Regions from separate parts of the Homo sapiens genome. Here regions 2 and 3 are each linked to region 1. Evidence: promoter capture Hi-C in 16 types of primary human blood cells and fetal thymus (Javierre and others, 2016). All regions are on one chromosome and are shown on one strand. Each heading gives the region's core, a stretch centred on a gene start or on the middle of the fragment in contact. The rest is flanking DNA. Distances are from core to core; before and after follow the strand shown. Region 1 holds the start of ZWINT (ZW10 interacting kinetochore protein). Region 2 overlaps IPMK (inositol polyphosphate multikinase). Region 3 overlaps IPMK (inositol polyphosphate multikinase).

Region 1 (3,874 bases), core at 1,240-3,739:
CATTTTGAATCTGCAGCCCATGCTCCCGAACTTACCTCTGCAGCTTGTCCCGCTCCTGTTCTGCCTGCTGCTTCAGGTTTCCAAGTTTCTGAAACACCCTGTCAAGCTCCTGCTGAGTCCCTGTCTTACGCTCCCTCACCTCTGCAGAAACCTCCGCCAGATGCTGCAGATGCTTCTCCTGCCAGGAGTGAGCATGCAGACATTATGCATCAGATGTTGAAGTCTTAGAAACTCCCTCCAACCCCTCCAGCCTACACCCAGCTCAGGGCTCAGGCTCAATGATGAAAAGAGGGACTCTATTCACTTCAGGGTGGAGTAGGGGCCTAGAGAAAAGGAAAGATCAGAATGAGCTGTTCTAGGGTGAGGCATTCTTGCGGGGAAGGGGCACAAAGGTGATAACACTTATTTAACTTGCTATGTGCCAGGTACTATTTTAAAGTCCTTGCTGTAATGATCATTTAATCATCTTAATAACTCTCTAGAGTAGGTGGTATTATTGCCTTCATTTTAAATAAAGAAACAGAAAGTTAGGTGACCTGCCCAAGATCATGCAGTGGTAAGTGGTGACACTGAGATTCAAGCCCATGTTGGTATTTATATTATAGTGCCTCAAAGGAGGAAGCAAAACGGTTTTCTAGACAGGGGACACAGCCGATACAATGGCATGGTGGTGGGAAGGGATATTCTCCTAGGGGGACGAACCTACCTGTTGTAGCTGCCACTGGTTCTGGACTGCTCTGCGTTTCTCCATGGCCATTTGTTTCTACAGATAAGCAAGGGAGAAAGACCAAGAGAAGTCTATTTTTTCTGGCTAGAATTTTGGGAGATTGCAAGCTGGCACAACTCAGCTTGCTCACTCTTTCCCTCTTCCTTTCTAACTGCCCTTCCCTCCCTGTACTCAAGACCCCTGGGTGTACCTTGGCCTGGAGCTGCTCAAAGGCTTCCCGGAGTTGTGTCCGTTTCCTCTGGGCTTCCTCCATCTGAGTCAGGGCCTTGGTGAGGCCAATTTTGATGGCCTCTACGTGCTCCCTGTAGGTGGCCTTCAGCTCTTTCCATTGTTCCTTAGCTGCAATTGCCTTCTGTCCTGAGATGAGCCACCAGGAATGAGTACATGAGTGAGGGTGGCCTGCTAGCCTGCCTCCCTGCAACACTGGGCCTCCTTCCCATCAGCCAAATGGGAGACCTAACTGAAATCCTCCTTCCTTCCCCACTCAGGTCAGCTGCTACTACAATCCCCTGCCTACTCACGGCTCGTGTCTTCAGAAGCCAAGGGGTCGAGACCCTTAGCAGTGTCCTCCTGAGCCAGGATGTTCTGCAGGAAATCCGCTACCTGAAGCTGGCTGCAGAGCAGCTTGTCTTTCTTCTGAGAGTCCTGCTCAGAGGGAGGGCAGAGACAGGGAACATCCTTACCTCCTTACAGGTTTCCTTAAGTCTGCTCTCTGCCAGTGCTGCCCTGTATCTCAGTAAGAGGAGCCAGGACCAGACCCTGGCTTCTGAAAGGCTCGCTCTCATCTTGTACATACCACCACAAACTCAACCAGGATCTTGGCTGGCAGTTCTGCCTCCTCCTGCAGGCCTACAGGTTCCAAGATGCCTGCCACCTCAGCCAGGACCCTGGAGGGGCAAGGAAACACAGGAAATTGCAGTTTCTTGTGGTGCTAGTTCTACAGTTCGTGTGTGTACACAAACAAATGTGGATGTGTATATCAGTATATATAGTATTGAGAGTCTTGCCTTGACCAGAGTTTACACAAGGGCCTGAAGGGTCCACAGCCTGCAACCAGGAATGGCGTGCATGGAGGGCACACGGTGGTAATACGTGCCAAAAGGAAAATCAGCAGGGCTAGTGGATAAGGAGTTTGAGAAAAGAGCTGAAATTTTAAATAGGGAGTGTCTCACTGAAGAGAAATCATTTGAGTCAAGATGTGAAGGAAGCCAGGGAGATATGCAAGGAAGGGGAAGAATGCTGGGCCTTGGGATCCCTCCTGGCGCTGAGCACCAGCCTTGGGGCAGAGTCTTGGAATAGCTGAGAAAGGACTCAGGGCAGAGGGCTGGATGCCTCGGTCTACTCTAGGGTTTTTCATTATTAGGGACTGGAGCAATCTACGAAGGGGCAGGGATGGGGATGAGAAGTGACTGGGAATGTGTCGTGTTGGGACAAGAAGACAGAAGTGAAACCGTCTCCTAGAGCACATCCTGTGGATTATGTGGATGTGGGGAGCGGCGAACGGTCCCCCAAAGGCTGTACTCCTGGAGCAGGCAACAGACACCTCAGGAACCTAAGACGGGACTGCGGTGAGGATCACTTCACGGCAGGGTCGAACCTCAACAGCTGTACAGGGTCGAGGGCACCAATCATTACACATAGGGGCCCACAAGGTCCTCCCAGGCCCGGCCCCAGCTGCCACTTAGCCGCAAACACTTACTCTAGGGCTGCAGCTTCCGCCTCTGTCTCCGCTGCCTCCATCTTTCCAGGCGCCGAGTTCAGCTGCCTTCCCACAATCCCTAAGATTACTTTGAAGTCACAGTCGACTTCGCGCCGGGGCAGGCGATTGGCTGCAGAGGTTAGTGGGCGGGCATCAAGGACCATTGTGCGCTCTAATTGGCAGGCGCGGATTCGCTCGTTGGCGGGCCTCGCTGCTTGGCGCAAGCGCGGTTATGGCTAGGCGCGCACGGGCTCTGCGCCTGCGCGCTAGTCCTTACGCGGTGCCAGAGACTATAAGTGGGCTTGAGCTCGACCGCGCGCCTGTGGAAGTTCTTTCTCTACTCGAAAAAGGGAAAGCATTTCCTTGAGTTTGCGTTTTAAGGGAAACTTACAGCATTGACACTTTATTTAAAATATTCACTACTGCTGTAGAAAAAAAAAAACAAAACCCCGAAAAACAGTGGGGCTGTTTCTAAGACGCTGGGAATCAGTAAAGAATAGTGATCCGGGAGATACAGGAAGCAAATGATCTGCGCTCAAAAAGCGAGCTGCTTTCAAAGATATTAGTATTTTATAGATGCGATGCAGGAGAGTGAACTCAAGCAGAGCCCAGCCGATTGCCTGCGTTGGCAAAATAGAACAGATATTCTGGGGAGACCAAGGTAGGTAATGTTCTTTGCAGAGTACAGGAGAAAGATAACTGCTGAGAGAGAACTTGGTATTCATTCAGCTGAGTACTGAGCAGTATGTGTCTCAAGAAACTAGCTAAAAGATTTTTAAAGATACCAGGACATGGCCGGTCGCGGTGGCTCACGTCTGTAATCCCAGCACTTTGTGAGTCTGAGGCAGGTGAATTACGAGGTCAGGAGTTTGAGACCAGCCTGGCCAACATGGTGAAACCCCCGTCTCTACTAAAAGTACAAAAAAAATTAGTTGGGCGTGGTGGTGGGCGCTTGTAATCCCAGCTATTCGGGAGGCTGAGGCAGGAGAATTGCTTGAACCAGGGAGGCTGAGGTTGCAGTTAGCCGAAATTGCGCCACAGCACTACAGCCCTGGTGACAGTGCGAGACTCCGTCTCACAAAAAAAAAAAAATACATATATATATATATATAAATATATATATATGGACATTACAGAGGGTCAGAAATAGTCTCTATTTCCACTAACCAGGCTGGAAAACTTCATAGTCCGTAGGACACTGGACAGAGTACACACAAAAAAGTCTTGATTTGATAGTTGTTTACTAATTATTTAGTAGGCAGTAATTAGTCCTAGCTGATCAGTGCTGTAGTGCCATCTAACTCTTAAAAGTAAGACCCAAATGGATCAAACTTAACAAACCATGACAGATGACAAGACCAAACTTCAGCAGTATTTATAGAAATAGAAAAATGTTCACCAAAGGTGCAATTTACATATGTCATACAAAGAAAAATTACCAAGCTTGC
Region 2 (3,579 bases), core at 302-2,801, 1.9 Mb after region 1:
GGTTTTGTCGAAAAAAAAGAAAAGGGGGAAATGTGGGGAAAAGAAAGAGAGATCAGATTGTTACTGTGTCTGTGTAGAAAGAAGTAGACATAGGAGACTCCATTTTGTTCTGTACTAAGAAAAATTCTTCTGCCTTGGGATGCTGTTAATCTATAACCTTACCCCCAACCCCCTGCTCTCTGAAACATGTGCTGTGTCAACTCAGGGTTAAATGGATTAAGGGCGGTGCACGATGTGCTTGGTTAAACAGATGCTTGAAGACAGCATGCTCATTAAGAGTCATCACCACTCCCTAATCTCAAGTACCCAGGGACACAAACAGGGCCAAAGGCCGCAGGGACCTCTGCCTAGGAAAACCAGAGACCTTTGTTCTCATGTTTATCTGCTGACCTTCTCTCCACTATTATCCTATGACCCTGCCACATCCCCCTCTCTGAGAAACACCCAAGAATGATCAATAAATACTAAAAAAAAAAAAATAATAAAATAAACAAATTAAAATAAAAAAATTAAAAAATACAAAAAGGAAAATTATGTCTTATGCTAAAGCATGGATAAAACTTAAAGACATTATGCTAAGTGAAATAAGCCAGTGTAACAAAAAGATAAATACTACATGATTACACTTATAGGAGATATTTAAAGCAGTTAAATTCTTAGAAAACAGAAAATAGAATGATAGCTGCCAGGGGCCAGGAGAAGGGAGAAAAGAGTTGTTCAGTGGACATGAGTTTTAAAAGATGAAAAAGTAGGCTAGAAAATAATGGCTCATGCCTATAATCCCAGTACTCTGGGAGGCCAAGACAGCCGGATCACGAGGTCAGGAGTTCAAAACCATCCTGGCCATCATAGTGGAACCCCGTCTCTACTGAAAGCACAAAAATTAGCCAGGGGTGGTACCACATGCCTGTAATCCCAACTACTCGGGAGGCTGGGGTAGGACAATCGCTTGAACACAGGAGGCGGATGCTACAGTGAGCTGAGGTCATGCCACTGCACTCCAGCCTGGGTGACAGAGGAAGACTCTGTCTCAAAAAAAAAAAAAAGATGAAAAAGTCCCAGAGAGACGTATCTCAAAATAATAAGAGTTATCTATGACAAACCCACAGCCAATATCATACTGAATGGGCAAAAACTGGAAGCATTCCCTTTGAAAACTGGCACAAGACAGGGATGCCCTCTCTCACCACTCCTATTCAACATAGTGTTGAAAGTTCTGGCCAGGGCAATGAGGCAGGAGAAGGAAATAAAGGGTATTCAGTTAGGAAAAGAGGAAGTCAAATTGTCCCTGTTTGCAGACGACATGATTGTATATTTAGAAAACCCCACTGTCTCAGCCCAAATCTCCGTAAGCTGATAAGCAACTTCAGCAAAGTCTCAGGATACAAAATCAACGTACAAAAATCACAAGCATTCTTATACACCAACAACAGACAAACAGAGAGCCAAATCATGAGTGAACTCCCATTCACAATTGCTTCAAAGAGAATAAAATACCTAGGAATCCAACTTACAAGGGATGTGAAGGACCTCTTCAAGGAGAACTACAAACCACTGCTCAAGGAAATAAAAGAGGATACAAACAAATGGAAGAACACTGCATGCTCATGGGTAGGAAGAATCAATATCGTGAAAATGGCCATACTGCCCAAGGTAATTTACAGATTCAATGCCATCCTCATCAAGCTACCAATGACTTTCTTCACAGAATTGGAAAAAGCTACTTTAAAGTTCATATGGAACCAAAAAAGAGTCCGCATCGCCAAGTCAATCCTAAGCCAAAAGAACAAAGCTAGAGGCATCACACTACCTGACTTCAAACTATACTACAAGGCTACAGTAACCAAAACAGCATGGTACTGGTACCAAAACACAGATATAGATCAATGGAACAGAAAAGAGCCCTCAGAAATAACGCCGCATATCTACAACTATCCGATCTTTGACAAACCTGATAAAAACAAGCAATGGGGAAAGGATTCCCTATTGAATAAATGGTGCTGGGAAAACTGGCTAGCCATATGTAGAAAGCTGAAACTGGATCCCTTCTTTACACCTTATACAAAAATCAATTCAAGATGGATTAAAGACTTAAACGCTAGACCTAAAACCATAAAAACCCTAGAAGAAAACCTAGGCATTACCATTCAGGACACAGGCATGGGCAAGGACTTCATGTCTAAAACACTAAAAGCAATGGCAACAAAAGCCAAAATTGACAAATGGGATCTAATTAAAATAAAGAGCTTCTGCACAGCAAAAGACACTACCATCAGAGTGAACAAGCAACCTACAAAATGGGAGAAAATTTTCGCAACCTACTCATCTGACAAAGGGCTAATATCCAGAATCCACAATGAACTCAAACAAATTTACAAGAAAAAAACAAACAACCCCATCAAAAAGTAGGCAAAGGACATGAACAGACACTTCTCAAAAGAAGACATTTATGCAGCCAAAAGACACATGAAAAAATGCTCACCATCACTGGCCATCAGAGAAATGCAAATCAAAACCACAATGAGAGACCATTTCACACCAGTTAGAATGGCAATCATTAAAAAGTCAGGAAACAACAGGTACTGGAGAGGATGTGGAGAAATAGGAACACTTTTACACTGTTGCTGGGACTGTAAACTAGTTCAACCATTGTGGAAGTCAGTGTGGCGATTCCTCAGGGATCTAGAACTAGAAATACCATTTGACCCAGCCATCCCATTACTGGGTATATACCCAAAGGATTATAAATCATGCTGCTATAAAGACACATGCACACGTATGTTTATCGCGGCATTATTCACAATAGCAAAGACTTGGAACCAACCCAAATGTCCAACAATGATAGACTGGATTAAGAAAATGTGGCACATATACACCATGGAATACTATGCAGCCATAAAAAATGATGAGTTCATGTCCTTTGTAGGGACATGGATGAAATTGGAAATCATCATTCTCAGTAAACTATCACAAGAACAAAAAACCAAACACCACATATTCTTACTCATAGGTGGGAACTGAACAATGAGAACACATGGACACAGGAAGGGGAACATCACACTCTGGGGACTGTTGTGGGGTGGGAGGAGGGGTGAGGGATAGCATTGGGAGATATACCTAATGCTAGATGGCGAGTTAGTGAGTGCAGCACAACAGCATGGCACATGTATACATATGTAACTAACCTGCACATTGTGCACATGTACCCTAAAACTTAAAGTATAACAATAAATAAATAAATAAAAAAGAATTAGAAATGCAAGGCTTTTGATATACATAGAATAAACTCTCACATTAAAAGGAGTAATGGGATGAATTAAAATTTGGAAGTAAAGCCCTCTAATTAGCTAGTGGATATCCACAGCTTGCTCCACAGCTACAGACTTTTTCCTTTATGTATGTGTTGCCCCTTTTTTCTCTTTACTAAATGAACACCTATATTAAAAACAAAGTCATCCTTCTATGATTATGCAAGTTGCACATGCTCCTTGTGAAAAATCGGGGAAAAGTGCAAAGAATAAAAAACATAAAGGGCTACAACCCACCACCTACTGATAAACACTGTTTATACTTCACTTC
Region 3 (4,098 bases), core at 473-2,972, 1.9 Mb after region 1:
CGCTCCCAGGTTCATGTGATTCTCCTGCCTCAGCCTCCTGAGTAGCTGGGACTATAGGCGCCACCAACACATCCGGCTAATTTTTGCATTTTTTGTAGAGACAGGGTTTTGCCATGTTGGCCAGGCTGGTCTCAACCTCCTGGCCTTGGCCTCCCAAAGTGCTGGGATTACAGGCATGAGCCACCGTGCCCAGCCCCAAGTAATTTTTGAACACAGTTTATACCCTCAGTATAAGAAAATCTCATCCTGAATTCATGAGTTGATGTCCTTTGTAGCGACATGGATGAAACTGGAAACCATCATTCTGAACAAACTATCGCAAGGACAGAAAACCAAACACCGCATGTTCTCACTCATAGGTGGGAACTGAACAACGAGAACACTTGGACACAGGGCAGGGAACATCACACACCGGGGCCTGTCGTGGGGTTGGGGGGATGGGGGAGGGATAGCATTAGGAGAAATACCTAATGTAAATGACTAGTTAACGAGTGCAGCAAACCAACACTGCACATGTATACATATGTAACAAACCTGCACGTTGTGCACATGTACCCCAGAACTTAAAGTATAATAAATAAATAAAAAAATCTCATCCTGAATTCTTTATTCTAGGCTTGTTTTCTGAAGTAGTATGGGTGTAGAAATTCTGAAAATTGTAAGATTAAGCAAAAGAATAAACATATTAATATCACTGGGAGCCAGGGTTCTTACTACAGAAGAAGGGAAATACAAATTTAGAATCAAGGGAAAGGAAGAACTCGGGTTTAAATGAAATTTGAAATATGAAATTATAATTTCTAAAATATTTATACATACTTTAAAAATCATGTCCATTGAAAAGTCCTGGAAGAAATGATACTCCAACAGTTATGACAATACCTAGTAACACAGATCTTGGTTTCTAAATACCATTTTCCACTAAAAAGAAACCAGGGCTCCTTGAAGAAATGGTTGACTCTAGGGCTGGGGAAGAAAGTTATGAGATAATTCTAAAAAATCTGTTATGACAGAAAGGAAGTGCTCTCAATGGTCAAATTTGGGACCATTTGAGCAACAAAATAAATAAGTTCCTTTTTTAAAAACATTGAGATGTGATTAAAGTCCAATAAATAAGTTCCATAATGGGTAATGATACATGTTATCAAATAGGAATCCATGATGCAAACTGATTATAAATAAGGACATAAATACTTAAGGGTAAAGGAAGAGCTATTTCTTGGAATGCTAGCTGTTAAAGCAGAGGGAGTGAAAGAATGGGGGGAAAAAATCACAATTTTGTAACTATCAGAATAAACACAGCTTCAGGCAAGAATCAACAGATGCCAAATCTAGGGATGAAGTTGATGAGAATCCAGATAGCTGCATGACTGTAAAGTGTCTCCTCACATATAGCTTATTAAATGTAGAACAGAAAACATTAACTATATACTGAAGCCAGGCATGGTGACTCATTCCTGTAATCCTAGCACTTTGGGAGGCTGAAGCAGAAGGATCACTTGAAGCCAGTAGTTCAAGACCAGCCTGGGCAACAAAGCCAGATCCCATCTCTACAAAAAATTTTAAAATTAGCCTGGCCCAGCAGTGGTTCATGCCTGTAATCCCAGCACTTTGGCAGGCAGAGGTGGGTGGATCACCTGAGGCCAGGAGCTCAAGACCAGCCTGGCCAACATGGCAAAACCCCGTCTCTACTAAAAATACAAAAATTAGCCAGGCATGGTGGTGCACTCCTGTAATCCTAGCTACTTAAGAGGCTGAGGCACGAGAATCACTTGAACCTGGGAGGCGGAGGTTGCAGTGAGTCAAGACCGCGCCACTGTTCTCCAGCCTGGGCAACAGAGCAAGACTCCGTTAAAAAAAAAAAAAATTAGCCTGGCCTAGTGGTGTGCACCTATACTCCCGGCTACTCAGGAGGCTGAGGCAGGAGGATTGCTTGAGCCCTGAAGTTTGAGGCTGCAGTGAACTACATCACGCCACTGCACTCCAGCCTAGGTGACACAGCAAGAGCCTGTCTCAAAAAACAAACAAACAAAACGATATACTGAAGAAGCCAGACTACACTTGAATCAGACAACCAGAAATAATCCACTACCAAAGGGCAGCTATTGTTGGCCTCCACTTACACAATGTTCCAGCTGGAAAAGTATCATCTGAATCCCATCGTAAGGAACTATCAGAAACCCAAATTAAAGAACATTTCATAAAATAACTGGCCTGTACTCTTCAAAATGACAATGTCATAAAGGACAGGGAAAGGCTGAGGATATGTTACAAATGAAAGGACACTAAAAGACATAACAACTAATTGCAATAAATGATTCTGGACCAGATCCTGTACTGAGAAAAACAAATGTGATAAAAGACATTACAGTATTGGAACAGTTGACAAAGTGAGACTATGGACTATAGATTAAAGTATTATATCCCTGTTAAATTTCCCATAGTTGATCAATGTGCTGTGGCTACAGAAGAGAATATCCTTGTTCTTAAGGAAGACACACTTTAGTATTAACATGTAAAGTGGCATAATGTATGCAACCTACTTGCAAATAGTTAAGAAAAATTATTTGCATTGAGAGATAATAAAACAAATTTTGCAAAATGTTACTTTTCTATTGTTCTTGCAACTTTTCTGTAGGCTTGAAATTATTTTAGGTTAATTAGTTTCAGAGGATATCTAATAAAAAGAGACTACTAAGCCAAGATAATTGTAGGTCTTTCTCCCCCACAACAATTATCAGTTTAAATCCTTGTTTTCCCTATAGACTACCCCATTTCTACATCCTACATCAGATCAAGAAATATCAGATTTCCATCATTTGTTTAAAACTTTAAGGACTTTTTAAAGAACTTAATGATACATATTAAAAGAATTTTATGCTAACTTTGGTGAGTTTTGGGAATTTATATTGATCTTTTTTTTGCGAAAACTTCCTACAGAGATAGGTACACAACGTGCAAGGTATGCTATTATATACAAGAATGTTTAATAAGTACATTACTTATCACAGCAAACAAATGGTGAAAAGTCTAAAAATCTATGATTACAGAAATAGTTAAATAAATTGTGATACATCCACATTGTAGAACACAATTTTTAGAAAGAATAAAGTATACCGTAAGTGCAAAAATATAGGTATAATACATGATATAATACAGAATGAGAAAAGTTGCTGATAGATTTATTTGTATAAAAAAACAGAACCGCGCTAATGTGTTTATGTATGTGCCCAGAAACAAAGGCCTGAAAGGATAGACAGGAAGTAGTTACCAGTGATTGCCCCTGGGAGAATGAGTAGGGGGAAGGGCACTACTTAAACTGAATTTTTTTCCTAAAAGATCCGTGTACTATACAATTTTTACAGTTTAAAAAACAAAATACTTTGTATTCTTAGAACTAAGATTTAAATGTATTTTGATGAAATATGGTTTCAGTGAAGAACACAAAATATAACGGATGTCTGAACTACTAATATATGCTTGTTACTTAGCATATATAACAAGATCTATTTTTCTGTTCAAGCACCTTTGTTCTATCAAGTTCCATGAGTTTAATTTTTAAACTAACAAAGCCAACAACTCCTTTTTGGAAATAGGTAAAATAATTCTAAATGGAACATTTCTGGTTACTTACTGATAGTAACACAAATTTAAAAACAAAACAAATACCAACATAACGTCCTTAACAAAGCTTATCCTGAGAATTATTTCAATTGACAGACCAAAGCATGATCTAAATGATGTAAACTGTACATGACTTATGACAGTGGAGAAACATAATAAAACTGTTGAACTTTGAATTAGTGACCATCTTATCCATTTTACAAATAGGGAATATATCATCAGTCAAGTATCCTTTTACTTAACAATACAGTCAGGATTGTATAACTATCTGAGAATTAAATTCAACAAATATTAGGTTGCTAGCACAGTATGTTTAAGCCATTCTACTATGGTGACACAAACACTGTCCCTACTCAAAAGACCCTTATGAAATTGCAAAAAAAGTTTATTTTACACTGAATGCCATAATAAAATTAAGGACTACTACCTCTAGAATCTAAACTTTTCCATTAATTAGGCAATTTGGGTGACAAA

What was found. Contacts are between HindIII fragments. The CHiCAGO score rates a contact against its expected background, and 5 or more counts as called.
Region 2: a fragment that was not itself captured here is called in contact with the fragment with the promoter of ZWINT in region 1 in 1 of 17 cell types (non-activated CD4 T cells); the score reaches 7.2 in non-activated CD4 T cells.
Region 3: a contact is called between a fragment that was not itself captured here and the fragment with the promoter of ZWINT in region 1, in 1 of 17 cell types (fetal thymus). The highest score is 5.9, in fetal thymus.

The regions. Positions count from the first base shown.
Region 1 is chr10:56,358,770-56,362,643 of GRCh38, forward strand. ZWINT (ZW10 interacting kinetochore protein) reads right to left here and starts at 2,490. Exons shown (of 9, transcript NM_007057.4): 1 at 2,427-2,490; 2 at 1,524-1,614; 3 at 1,249-1,372; 4 at 918-1,084; 5 at 707-763; 6 at 36-178. The coding sequence starts at 2,467. LOC124902546 (a long non-coding RNA gene) reads left to right here and starts at 2,690. Exons shown (of 2, transcript XR_007062372.1): 1 at 2,690-3,087. RefSeq lists enhancers at 375-1,574, 720-1,460, 2,200-2,939, 2,288-2,457 and a silencer at 2,548-2,757. The HindIII fragment of the contact is 11,189 bases long and covers 1-3,867 here.
Region 2 is chr10:58,244,580-58,248,158 of GRCh38, forward strand. The region is part of intron 1 of IPMK (inositol polyphosphate multikinase); the gene reads right to left. Among named protein-coding and RNA genes, the nearest start is that of IPMK, 22 kb to the right of the region's middle. The HindIII fragment of the contact is 7,112 bases long and covers 1-3,579 here.
Region 3 is chr10:58,261,669-58,265,766 of GRCh38, forward strand. The region is part of intron 1 of IPMK (inositol polyphosphate multikinase); the gene reads right to left. Among named protein-coding and RNA genes, the nearest start is that of IPMK, 4.2 kb to the right of the region's middle. The HindIII fragment of the contact is 3,933 bases long and covers 1-3,689 here.